Linked DNA regions of Homo sapiens: regions 1 and 2 are each linked to region 3. The links are contacts of gene promoters, found by promoter capture Hi-C in blood cells and fetal thymus (Javierre and others, 2016). All regions are on one chromosome and are shown on one strand. Each heading gives the region's core, a stretch centred on a gene start or on the middle of the fragment in contact. The rest is flanking DNA. Distances are from core to core; before and after follow the strand shown.

The links. The method cuts DNA at HindIII sites, captures the fragments that hold promoters and counts their contacts. A CHiCAGO score of 5 or more calls a contact.
Region 1: a contact is called between a fragment that was not itself captured here and the fragment with the promoter of APCDD1 in region 3, in 1 of 17 cell types (naive B cells). The highest score is 5.4, in naive B cells.
Region 2: a contact is called between a fragment that was not itself captured here and the fragment with the promoter of APCDD1 in region 3, in 4 of 17 cell types (naive B cells, endothelial precursors, M2 macrophages and 1 more). The highest score is 6.3, in naive B cells.

Annotation. Positions count from the first base shown.
Region 1 is chr18:10,262,861-10,266,438 of GRCh38, reverse strand. No RefSeq gene overlaps it. Among named protein-coding and RNA genes, the nearest start is that of LINC01254, 150 kb to the left of the region's middle. The HindIII fragment of the contact is 946 bases long and covers 1,683-2,628 here.
Region 2 is chr18:10,208,826-10,212,427 of GRCh38, reverse strand. No RefSeq gene overlaps it. Among named protein-coding and RNA genes, the nearest start is that of LINC01254, 200 kb to the left of the region's middle. The HindIII fragment of the contact is 1,076 bases long and covers 1,559-2,634 here.
Region 3 is chr18:10,452,183-10,456,075 of GRCh38, reverse strand. APCDD1 (APC down-regulated 1) reads right to left here and starts at 1,441. Exons shown (of 5, transcript NM_153000.5): 1 at 1,037-1,441. The coding sequence starts at 1,094. The HindIII fragment of the contact is 7,093 bases long and covers 1-3,893 here.

The DNA of each region.
Region 1 (3,578 bases), core at 906-3,405, 190 kb after region 3:
AGGAGGAAGATGTCAGAGAAGGGCCTGGCCAGTCTCAAAATCTTGGAACCCTAAGCTTAAGTCGAAAGAGATTGTCGTGGTGACAAATAGAGGAAATATTGTTTACTACACTAAGTTGTAAACATATGGAGCAGATTATGCTAAGAATGTCAGGGGAAAATATAAATAGATTTTAAGTGGATTCAGATCAATTCATGCATAATGGACCTTATTATTAATAGGTTATTAAGGGAAAGTTGGAAATATTCTGCGGTTGTCGTCACGAATCCTTTGAGATCAATGTCAGATAGCAAAACTCTACGACTCACCCAACAAACCTCTCCCAGCACCATGTCAGAGGCAAACACTGACCCTAGCCTGACATTCTACAGCATTGATTCAGTTCTTATCTCTTTATATCTTGCAGCCAAGAGCCTTGAGCTTTATCTACATTGAATGGAATTAATTAAATTTAGAGACAGTGGAGTGGTTGGTTGAAAAATGGCTCGTCAATACTAAATAATTTATAAATACAGACAACCTCCCTCATTCCAACTCAGTGAAATCAATCCAACAATTTATTCAACCCCCAAAGTAGTACATTCCACCTTGGGGTGTTGCCGACTAGAGGTACATGACCACCTGCCATCAGAGCTTATCTTGATCTTGAGACAGGAGTCAGCCAATATTTTAAACCAAACTCAAGTGGAAAACACAAGAGAAAGAGGAAGTAGCTAGAGTCTACTGTTCCTAGACACAAAAAGAATTAACTTGACTACAGACAGGAAGGGTTGCAACTGGCAAGGGAGTTAGGAATGGACTAGAGTAGAACCATTGCCTCAGTTTGTGGCTTAGGAAAAGAAATGCCAAAGGGGGATGATTGGCCAAGGATGCACATTGTGGGTTGAAGGTGGGGCCAAGGGCCACCTCCTCTCTCCCATGCAGGGTTCAATCCCATCTGAGACAAAACTATTTTCACACTATGCTGATTAGTTTATTGGAGTCCAGGATAAAGAATTTTATACCTTGATGTCTGGAACTGAGATTGAAATCACTCCAGAATTTTGTTGGAAATGCTAACATTAAACAAAAGGTGTGGGCTAGAAACAGTTTGAAGAAAGTCTGGACATTCTGGCATTCGGGGAGATGTGTTCAAGATGCCTTCTCCCAACTTCTCCCACACACCCCAACTTGTATAGCAGTGAGGTTGGGGTTAAGGGACTAGGTTCCAGCCAATGGGATGTGGCAGAAGTGATATAGGCTACCTTCTGGAGGGACAACAGAGCCCCTTGTATAAACCTCTAGACCAGCTGTGTCCACTGGAACTCTCTGCACTGGTGGTGATGTTCTGTACTACACTGTCCACTGTGGTAGCCACTGGTCTTATGTGACCAAACACCTGAATTAAAATTTTATTCAACTTTAATTGAATTAAATTAATAGAATTAAATTAATTGAGAGGTTGGAAAGGTTGGGAAGCAGACTGTCAAGAGGACCAGCAATAGAACAATAGTACTGATACTGGCCTCAAGTAAACAGAGAGAGAACACCTGCTCCCCCACACCATTGGCGGAGCTGTGGGACGACACCAGTACATCTCCTCTGCTCTGAATTTTTAAACTCTTCTGTTTTCACTAATAGCAAAGTTCTGGCTGTTGTCATCTTTCTCCCTTCATTTGTTCAAAAAGGTTGTTGTACAAGCTTAGCATATCATTGTCTGATATTTTCTAAATTTGGCACTCATGGTTCATACAGGATGAAGGTTGTTCAGCCACATTCACTGGGGAACCCATTAGCAATACAGGGCCATTTCAATCCTGTCTGATCTTGGCCTAAAGTAAGAACTACATTTTATGTCATGGATTAAGATACATAGTACATTCAAACACACAACTGAAATAAAGTTTTTATGAAATAACACTAGCCTCACTACAGAAAAGCCACTTGGTTATTTTCTGTTCTATTTATTCACTTATGTAAATGCTCATCACCACACGCTCAATGAACCACAAACGGTTCGTGATCTACAGTTTGAAAACCCTTAGCATGAGGAGAATATAGACATTCAGCCCACTCCTCACGGCCACCATGTTCTTGCGGGGGACTGTCAGGGTCTCCCGGCTCAGCCAGACTCACAGCTGGTGGGATCTGATAGATAAATGGTGCTCCTGCTTATCCCCACGGCTGCTTCCAACTTGGGCTTCCTTCTGGGCTCGCTCTCCTTGGAGGAGCCCCTGGAGAAGGCCCTTTCACAGCCCGCAGGCTGATTCTGGTGGGAATGATGAAACAGATCAAGGAGTCCTCCATGACCATGACCACGTCCAGATCTGAGGGCAGGAGCAGATCTGCTCACGGTGGCTTAGCAGACACTGATAAGGAGGATTTGGGAACAGCCATTCTTCTTTTCACTATGATTTTAAAACTTTCCATTCTCAAAACAATGTTCAAATCAAGTCTGCAAATGTCATGAAACAACTTACAGGCTCTCGTGTCCTCACCCTCTGTTGAGAGTGAATTGTTCCTCCCCCATGGCCAGGTCCCTCGCAGGGCTGGCATGGCAGGGTGGTCTCTCTGCTCTGCTTTTCTGAGGTTGGGGTGCACTCCCACTTCCGGTGGCCCTGGCAGCCTCCTGGGAGCAGCGGGGAAGCTTCCCTTAACCCACCTTTCTCCCGTTCCTCCAGTGCCTTTGCAAGGTTACCCTTGAGTTTCCTGGTACCCTGGCCAGGCAGACCAGGCTGATCAGTTACCTCCTGCAGCTCCCATGTCTGAAATCTGCCCCTCTTTTCCACTAATTGATGCCTTGGGAAATAAGGTTTCTAATGACTAAAAGCAAATGAGGTTGAGCGTGCACTATGATGCAAATAGCAAGGGTCGTGATAATTCTAGACCAAGTAACACCTGCTTGACCACTGTTCAACTCCCGAGCACACTGTGCTGAGCTGAAAGCTGGCCTTTGCCTCTGCAGGGGACTTCAGCTGGGATTCCACTGGGCTGGGTCTAGAGGGGGCTTCTCTCAAAAAAAGCTCAGGGCATGTCTCCCCACATTATGGCCAACCCTCTCTAGAAAGACATTTTATTTAAAAACCTATTGGTGTCCTAGTTCTATGAAATTCCTCTTAATGTAAGCCCTGAACAAACTTCTTTGGCGGCCAGAGCCCTGGAGCCGTGTTAGAATGCCATCTTCCCTGTGTTCTTTTCTTGGAAAAATCCCAAGAGACCAGGACTCAGCCAGCTTCCTGTTGAAGATTCTAAACCCCTGTGTTTCCCATCAGGACTGCTGACAAAAGAGAGGGGGCTCTCCAGGCAGGACCCCACAGAGGGCGGTGTGAGCAGGGACTGGAAGACAGGAGAGGCAGGGTGTGGTCTAAACCAGCCTCGGGGCCATTCCTCACTGCTGAGGGAAGAGGGTAGGCAGATGGCTCCGTTAGGAACTCTGGGCCCCCCGATCGCTCCAGTTGACTGGGGCCTTGCTATCTTTTCATTTTCATCCTAAAATGATTAGGTTTGAATGCTGAGGTTTCATGTTGAAAATGTAATGAGAACCTTCGTGGATTGGAATGAGATGCAGAAAGCTGCACAGATGGGGTTTCTTTCTGGGG
Region 2 (3,602 bases), core at 847-3,346, 240 kb after region 3:
CTTTCTTAATCAAGTATTCCTTTAACAAAACCCATCAAGGTAATTTTGATATAGATACCTGGATAAAGAAGACCCTGTCTCATCTGGAAAACTGAAATTCTAGGATCCTAATTAGACGCACACAACAGATAAGCAATAGCCCCTCACTGCTCTATCTGAAAAGGGTTTTGTTTTGTTTTACGTTTTGCTGTCTGGGCCAGCTACATGTTAGGGGGAGAGATTAAAGGACAGACTTCAGGAGACACTCATACAGGGCCTAGAAAAAATTATCACCAGCAAGAGAGAAAGGAGAAACCATTTCAACAGGCTGGAATAGAATGTGGAGCAGGATTTTGTATAAAAGGACAGCACCTTGGAGAAGAGCTGGCATGGAGACGGGTTGGATGCTGGGTTGGGAGTGAGGTCACCAACTAAAAAGGCTGGCCTGGGCTCTACAGTTGATGAGGACTCACAGGAGGCTAAACTGGGACTGAGAATGGATATTTTCCTATTGTACAGATGCTGGCAGTGATACAGGAAGGGTAAGTGGGAGAAGGATGAGACCGGAGGCAGGAACCACCATTCAACCTATTATAGGCAAAAGGAGGGTCACTACAAATATGGCAGGAAGAGCCCTCCTCTGTCATGGTGGCCTCTTCCGCAGTGGGAAAACTGCTCTTGGTATTTTACGTCTTCTTTTTCCCTTTTATTCTTTCTCCCAATGCTAATGTGTGGGATGGGAAAAAGATACTGAGGTTGAGGGCCTGGCCCAAGATGAAAACTAACGTTTTTGTCTGTGAGCATGGGAAGGTTAGACACACGTGGAAGATTCTCACTCCTTCCTTTCCTGACATCCATTGTTTAATTGTGTCTAGAAGTCTGGAAAGTGCCAGACACAAGTTTGACTCCATGAAGAAAGAGGCACAGAGCAAATGATAATGATATCTGGACTTCAGAATAAACTGCAGATCTGAAGATATTTGGAAATCTTTTATTGGTTCCATACACACAGTTGTTATGATTACATCAGATGAATAATTAAAGAAGACAGACATACTATGCAGAAAGAAAGAAAGTACAACGTGATCTGAGTCTGTATCATCACCTTTCTTCCTCTTCAGCATTTTCTTCCATGCTGCTTTATTAATTAAACCAAAAGTGTGTTTTGTTTCTCTGTTAAACAAAGTGAAATGATTACTGACATGTGATGATAGTTCCCAAAGAGTTTTTCAAATCGGACCTTTCTAAACCAGTTTTTACGAAAGGAAATCTGGCATGTTTGTTTTTTTATCTTTTTATGTGCCTTACTGAATGCTGTTTACTTCATTACATTTTGTTTGTTTGTGTGTTTCTGAAGAATGTTTAGAGCCCTAGATAGGAAAAGACAAAAGAATAAGAACAGAAGAGCAACAGTATGGCCTCTTGGCTTATGATATAATGATGGCTTCTTAATGAATCCTGATCATGAACTGAGAATTAAACAATTGGGCTGAGGCCTTCTTAATGGGCCTATCAATGGTTTATGACAGTGTGAAATAATAGGAAACCCCTCTTGCAATTGTAATTCATTGGTTAAGCTTGTTACTCTCTGCTGAGCCATCATTTTGTCATTGGAATCCAACTCATTTCTCCTCTTACCCTAGCTATCCCTGCCCAGCAAAGATGTGGAACTGACAACTCATCGTATCACACGTTCTGGCCCCAAGGACTTCCAAATATCTAGGTTGTCCTTCATTTAGCAAAAAGAAAGTGTGCGTAGGGGTAGAGGGTGAGGGGAAGAATTCCCACTTCAAGGGACCACCCTAAGGACTCTTCTTTTCTGGAGTAGTTCCACACTGGCATTCCTTCCTTCAAACAGAAAAATGTGTAAGAAACAGCCACTGTATGCCTTGTACTCAGTGCTGGGAAGGCAGACAGGAATGAAGCACAACCCATGATTTCAGCGGTAGCCCTGCAGACAGACACAAAGAATTGCACCATAATGGAGGCGTGAAGTAAGTGTGGGGGCTGCCTAGGGGAGGTGGGACTAACTCTGCCGGAAGAGTATTGAACCATAACAAATCAGGCAATGGGCTTGTTTTTTTTTAAAAAAAAAATCCTCTAAATTCAAGACTATATGAGCAACCAACTGGAAAATTCAGTATAAGCCTTCTGGTACCCACCCAGGCAGAATTAATCCAAAGGTCTTCTCTCTTAGTACTTTGTTCTTTTCATTAAGTAGAGCCCTACCACACTGCATAATAGGAAGTCGGTTATCTGCCTGTCTGCCTCTGTGTTCCCCTTCACAGGGCCAAACTCCGGGTTGGTCTTAATGCCTATTGGCATTAAATAAATGATCAAATGATCTAATGAAGGAAGCCGCTGCTACCTGTGTCTTCTGTGTTTCTCTCTATGCATTAGTATGGAGGGATCTTGAAACTTTTCATAAATTAAACTCAACCTCTTTCTCCCATTCCCGCCCCCACTCTCAACTCAGAAGCTCAGAGCCTGGCTCTAAGTCGTGTTTCTTCTGCATTCCTTGACAGTTATTTGTTATAATCGTTTTAGGCACTTTGAGGTTACTTAATAAATGTTGGCAATTTGACTGACAGATGAAATGGGTAGGGATGTTACACATTTAAAGTACAAACAGGAAATGTTTATTAAATAGAAGCTTGAAATAATTGTTTGAGATATGACAAGATAGAGTTTTCTAAACCTGTTTACTGTATGCAAGATGGGCTAGATGGAGTCCTTTGATGAATTAGTTTCTTGCGTTTTTTCCAAATATTTCTTGTTCTCTTTTCTTTTCATTGGGGCATATATTTCCCACCTTTGGCACAAGATTGAAAAGCCCTGGTGGTCCCACTTCTTTCTGTATGTACAGAACAGTGAGTTACTGTGTGGTCAACATGTCCGGACAAGTCTGAAGGGAGATCAGGGATGTATATGTGCATATGCGCGTGCGAGTGTGCTTGCATGTGTGCGTGCGAGTGTGCATGTGTGTGTGTACATGCATATGCCCAACGTGTATACAGTTATAGGTCAATTCAGACAATTAACATTCTTTCTCCTGCTGTAGAAAAATAATATTACTTATATATTCAAACATTTGCTTCCCAAAAGCCAAAAGAAAAAGAAAATAAACTTTTTGTTAAAGACATTGTTGGTAGGTGGTTTGGGGATTGCAAATTATTGTTCTTTACTGCATCTTTTGGAAAATAAACTCAGTAAAAATTGAGAATCGCTTCTCAGCCTTTTGGCTGAGTGTGGTAAAAATTGAGATTATTGTATTAGAGGATTCACCCTTTTGATTTCTCTTATTATTTGAACTACAGAAAATAATGCGCATTTGGAGACCTTGTTTTTATTTTCATTGTCTTTCACCTTTATGTCTTATTAAGAATATTATTTTGGTAATATTTTGACTTATTTGTCTTTACATACGCTGATTTATCTTTTCCTTACTGGTTTTATGACCTATTTAAGTGATATTGATGACAAGAATTATGTTAATAATGAAAGTAAAAACGAGGCAAGGTACCTAGAGTCTTTTACATGGTATTATATAGTCATGTGCGACACAACAACATTTTGGTCAATGACAGATCACATATATGTCAGTGGTTCCATAAAATAATAAT
Region 3 (3,893 bases), core at 192-2,691:
GGAGGGAAGGTCCTCAGCCTGACTTTCAGTCCTGGCTACCATGCATTCTGAAGCCGGAGCCCGCTACAGGTTTGGGGTGGCTGTGGTGGGTGTTGAGGAAGGAGAGCCGTGAAGTCATGCTGTTGAAACGTCAGGTGTCTGACCATTAGGGACAGTTTGCTCAGGACATCCACATCAACACGACGTGATCTGCCACGGCTTGTCAGGATTATGAACCCGACGCGCCATAAAACCTGCCTTGTCCACCCCAAAGAAATTCTGTCTTGGTGTTTTCAGCGCAATTTCTGGAACCCGCTGAAAGGGCTGATGTTCTCTAGCTAAAGGTTTACTAGAACCCCTGGGGAAAAGTGGCACTGGAAGCCCAGGAAATGGGACGTCAAGTTGGGGTGCACATTGGGAGACTGGTAATAATGATTAAATCTTGGCTAATAGGGGTCCCCTGTTTCTTAAAATTACACCCAGAGAACGCAACAGTCCACTTGGGAGAAAACCCCACAACCCCGCCTCAATCGCGAGGCAAAGTGCAGGCAGACAACAAACACTAGTTTTCAGAAGGCAGACAGACGTGTCTTTCCCAAATGATCAGTTTCTCTTTCCACTCTCCTAAACGCTTGGAACACATCAAGAGCCTGCTGCATTCTGGCATTTTGGAAAAAGGCTCGCAGAGCCGGCGATTTCATGGCAGTGTACAGTTGGAAAATCCAGCAGAGCGGACGAAAGTTTCCCTCGGACTGGATGCAACGGATTCTGGACATAAAAGGTGTCTGCGTGGGAGAGCTTCCACCCTTCCAAAAAGAACAGTCCCGCAGCAAAGAGCTCCGGGCGCCCTGGGGGAGAGCGGTCCCAAGCCTCGGAAAGTGGGCAGAGCCCCCTCTCCCAGGGCTGAGACGGCAGGCGCGGGGCTCCCCTCGGACCCGCCCCGCCAAGGGGACAGTGTAGGCCGTGCCGCGATCCAGACCCGACGCCTCCGCGGGCTCCGCGGCGCCCGGGCTGCCTCCGCCGGCTGGGAGCGCTCGAGTGGCCCTCGGGAACTCACCGTGAAGCAGGAGGGCCGGGAACAGGTATCTGAGCAGGAGGCGGCGCGGCCAGGACATTTCCAGTCCTGCTCTGGGGCCTCCCGCACGCCGCGCTCCGATTTGGTGCCCGGGCAACTGGGCGCGCGCTCTGCCCTCCGCCTCCGGCCGGGTGCGGCCGGGCCAGGCCGGGGCTTCAGGCGGCTGCCGCGCGCCCCATGCCCGGCGGGCTAGGCGCGGGGCTGCGGGGCGCGCGCTCTCTGGGCGCCGTCGGGCGGCTGTGGGCGCCCCGGCCCGGTCCGCGTCCCGGCCTCTCTGCCGCCCGCCCCGACTTCTCCGCGCCCGGCCCCGCGTCCCGCCCCGGCCGCCGCGTGCGCCGCTCTGAGCTGCAGTGGCCGCCACCGCCACCGCAGCTGCAGCGTCTCTTCATATTTCCAGCGCGCCGCCGGCCGGGCAGCCTGGCCGCGGCACGGAGGAGGGGCCCTGGAGGGGGCGGTCGGGGGAGGCGACGCCGAGCCACCGCCCCCGGGCAGCCGCCGCCGGGGGGGAGCGCGGAGACTTGAAAGGGCGCGTCGGGCAACGCCTCCCCTCCTCCCACTCCGGGCGCCCCTCCTCCCCCCGCTCCCCTCCCGCTTCCCTCCTTCCCCTCTCTCGCCTACCCCTCCTCTTCCAGCTTCCTACCCCTTCCATCCTCCCCTCCTCCTCTCCTCCCTCCAGGCCCCTCTGCCTCCCTCTGGCTCTGCGCACCCCTTTCTCTCCTCCCCGTCCCCCATTCCGGGCGCGCTTCCTCCTTGGAGGGGGTGGGAGCCTTTGGCCCCGCACCCCGCCCGCAAGGAAAGAGAATGCGCGGGTCACCCTTCCGCCTCCGCCCACTCCCCTGGGGAAAGGTGTTCAAAGGGGGTGCGGGCGGCGAGGCTGGAGGCCTGGCGTGGGATCCAAGCAAAGCGGCCTGCTGAGCCGGGGTGTGTGCCAGCGCGCAGCCATGGGAGAGAGGGGAGACCAAAGAGAGAGTCCTGGAGGGTTGCTGGGGGTGAGGATGCGTCAGTGCTGGGCCCCCTCGTGGGTGCGGTGCAGGTCTTCACTACAAATCGCCTACCCCGGCCCAGTGCCTGGCTCCTCTGGGGAGCACGGAGAACCTTGTCATAGGCCCCAACCTGGGAAGGGCACGGTGTAGGAGGCAGGAGCCCGTTCACTTTTTCCTCCCCCTTCCACTAGGCAAATGACTTGTTGAAACGGGAGAAATCTCCGAGAAACGCTCCCTGTCAGTCTAAGAACGTGCACTTAGGCCCCTTCGCCGAGTCCTCTTCTCTTCCAGAGCAAATTGAATCACCACAATCAAAGCTGATTTTATTTGTGTTCGCGGTCTTGTGGGGGAGGGGGGACTACATGGGCGTTTGAGACCCAAAGGCAGGAAGAGTTTCCCCTGGGGTCCTTCGTTCTCCAATGCGGGTACAAGGCAGTGGCCATCTGATTTACCTGGAAGGTCCCTCCTCTGCCAAGGGCCTGCTTGAGCCCTTCCCCTCTTCCAGCAGTTTTCCCCCTCCTAAGGTTAATGTCACCTCTTCTCCACACTAGGATAAAGAGCAGACAGGAGACCCAGTGGAGTCTAGAGAACATTTCTTGACGCAACCGTTAGTGTTTTTCATTTAAAAAAAAGATTAAAATAAATGCCTGATTTCCCAAGAGAATTCTCTGCCCCTTTGAACAATGCAATAATTCAACTCCTTATGTGTTAGACTTTCAAAAGTAGTTGGATCTTAGCAACGGTATAATAGTAAAATAGATGAGAATACATTTGACAGTTTCCACTTTTCTTTTTTTTTTTTTAACCTGAGAAATCCATGGGTGTTTTGATGTGATAGTGCTGACGCTGTTTGATGTGTCTTAATTTTTATCACCATCATTATCATCTTTCCATCATTAATACAGAGGATCATAAGATGTACCAGCTGCTCAGCTCACACGGATGTTGTGAAGATTAATGTGCTCCTGTTTGCAAATCTTGAAGATGAAAGAATACCTGTGTGGGCAAAAAGAAGATCATGAAAACGATGCCTATGAGCGCAGGCATTATTTTGTGTTAGTCTTGCTCTGCCACATCTTTCTGAGCCTGACTTTGTACCTGATCGTTCTCTCATCCCAGTTGCTAGGCTTGGGTAGCAGACTATGATTTGTAAGATTTGAATGTTTGCCAAGGGCCAATCAAATTTTCATTTTAAACCAAGAATTTGACTTCTTCACGAATGTTGGGCAGTTGGAAACGATGTAAACAGCATACTTGGTTGGTTATGCAGAACAAAAGCCTTGTCACCAAGAACACATATGAAGTGGTGTTTAGTTTTTCAATGTCTTTTAGTCATTTGATGCCTTTTAGTCCATCAAAGAATATTTGAAACAAGCAAATGGCTAAGAGAGTGTTAGGGGTGGTGCATTTTTGTATAAGCAAATAGGTTGACAGCAATGGAAAAATGTTTAGGTTATTCATCACATATTAGAAGAACAGTTAGGTCATGTATGTGCTTAATTTTTTGATTTTGTTATTAAAAAAAGGATAAAACCAACAGGTCAGCTGTAATTTGGTGTCATTTTGACAGTCAAGTTGCTTCAATTTTTGTTTTTCCAACTGGTTTTACTGGTGTGGTATAAACGTAGCCAGAATGAAGTCAGCAGTTTCAAATTTGTTTTGCCAGTTTATTTTCCCCATGTAGTGTCATAGATTTAAATACTCGACCCTCAACATAACATCCTGCCAGAGTTACTACTGCCTGAAAATGTCCCCGCAACGTCCAACAGTCGAGAAGATCTAGATTTGTCCGAGGATAAGTTCATTTTCTGCATTACTTTTCACTTCTGCTGTTAATGTACCTCTTTCTGGAGAAG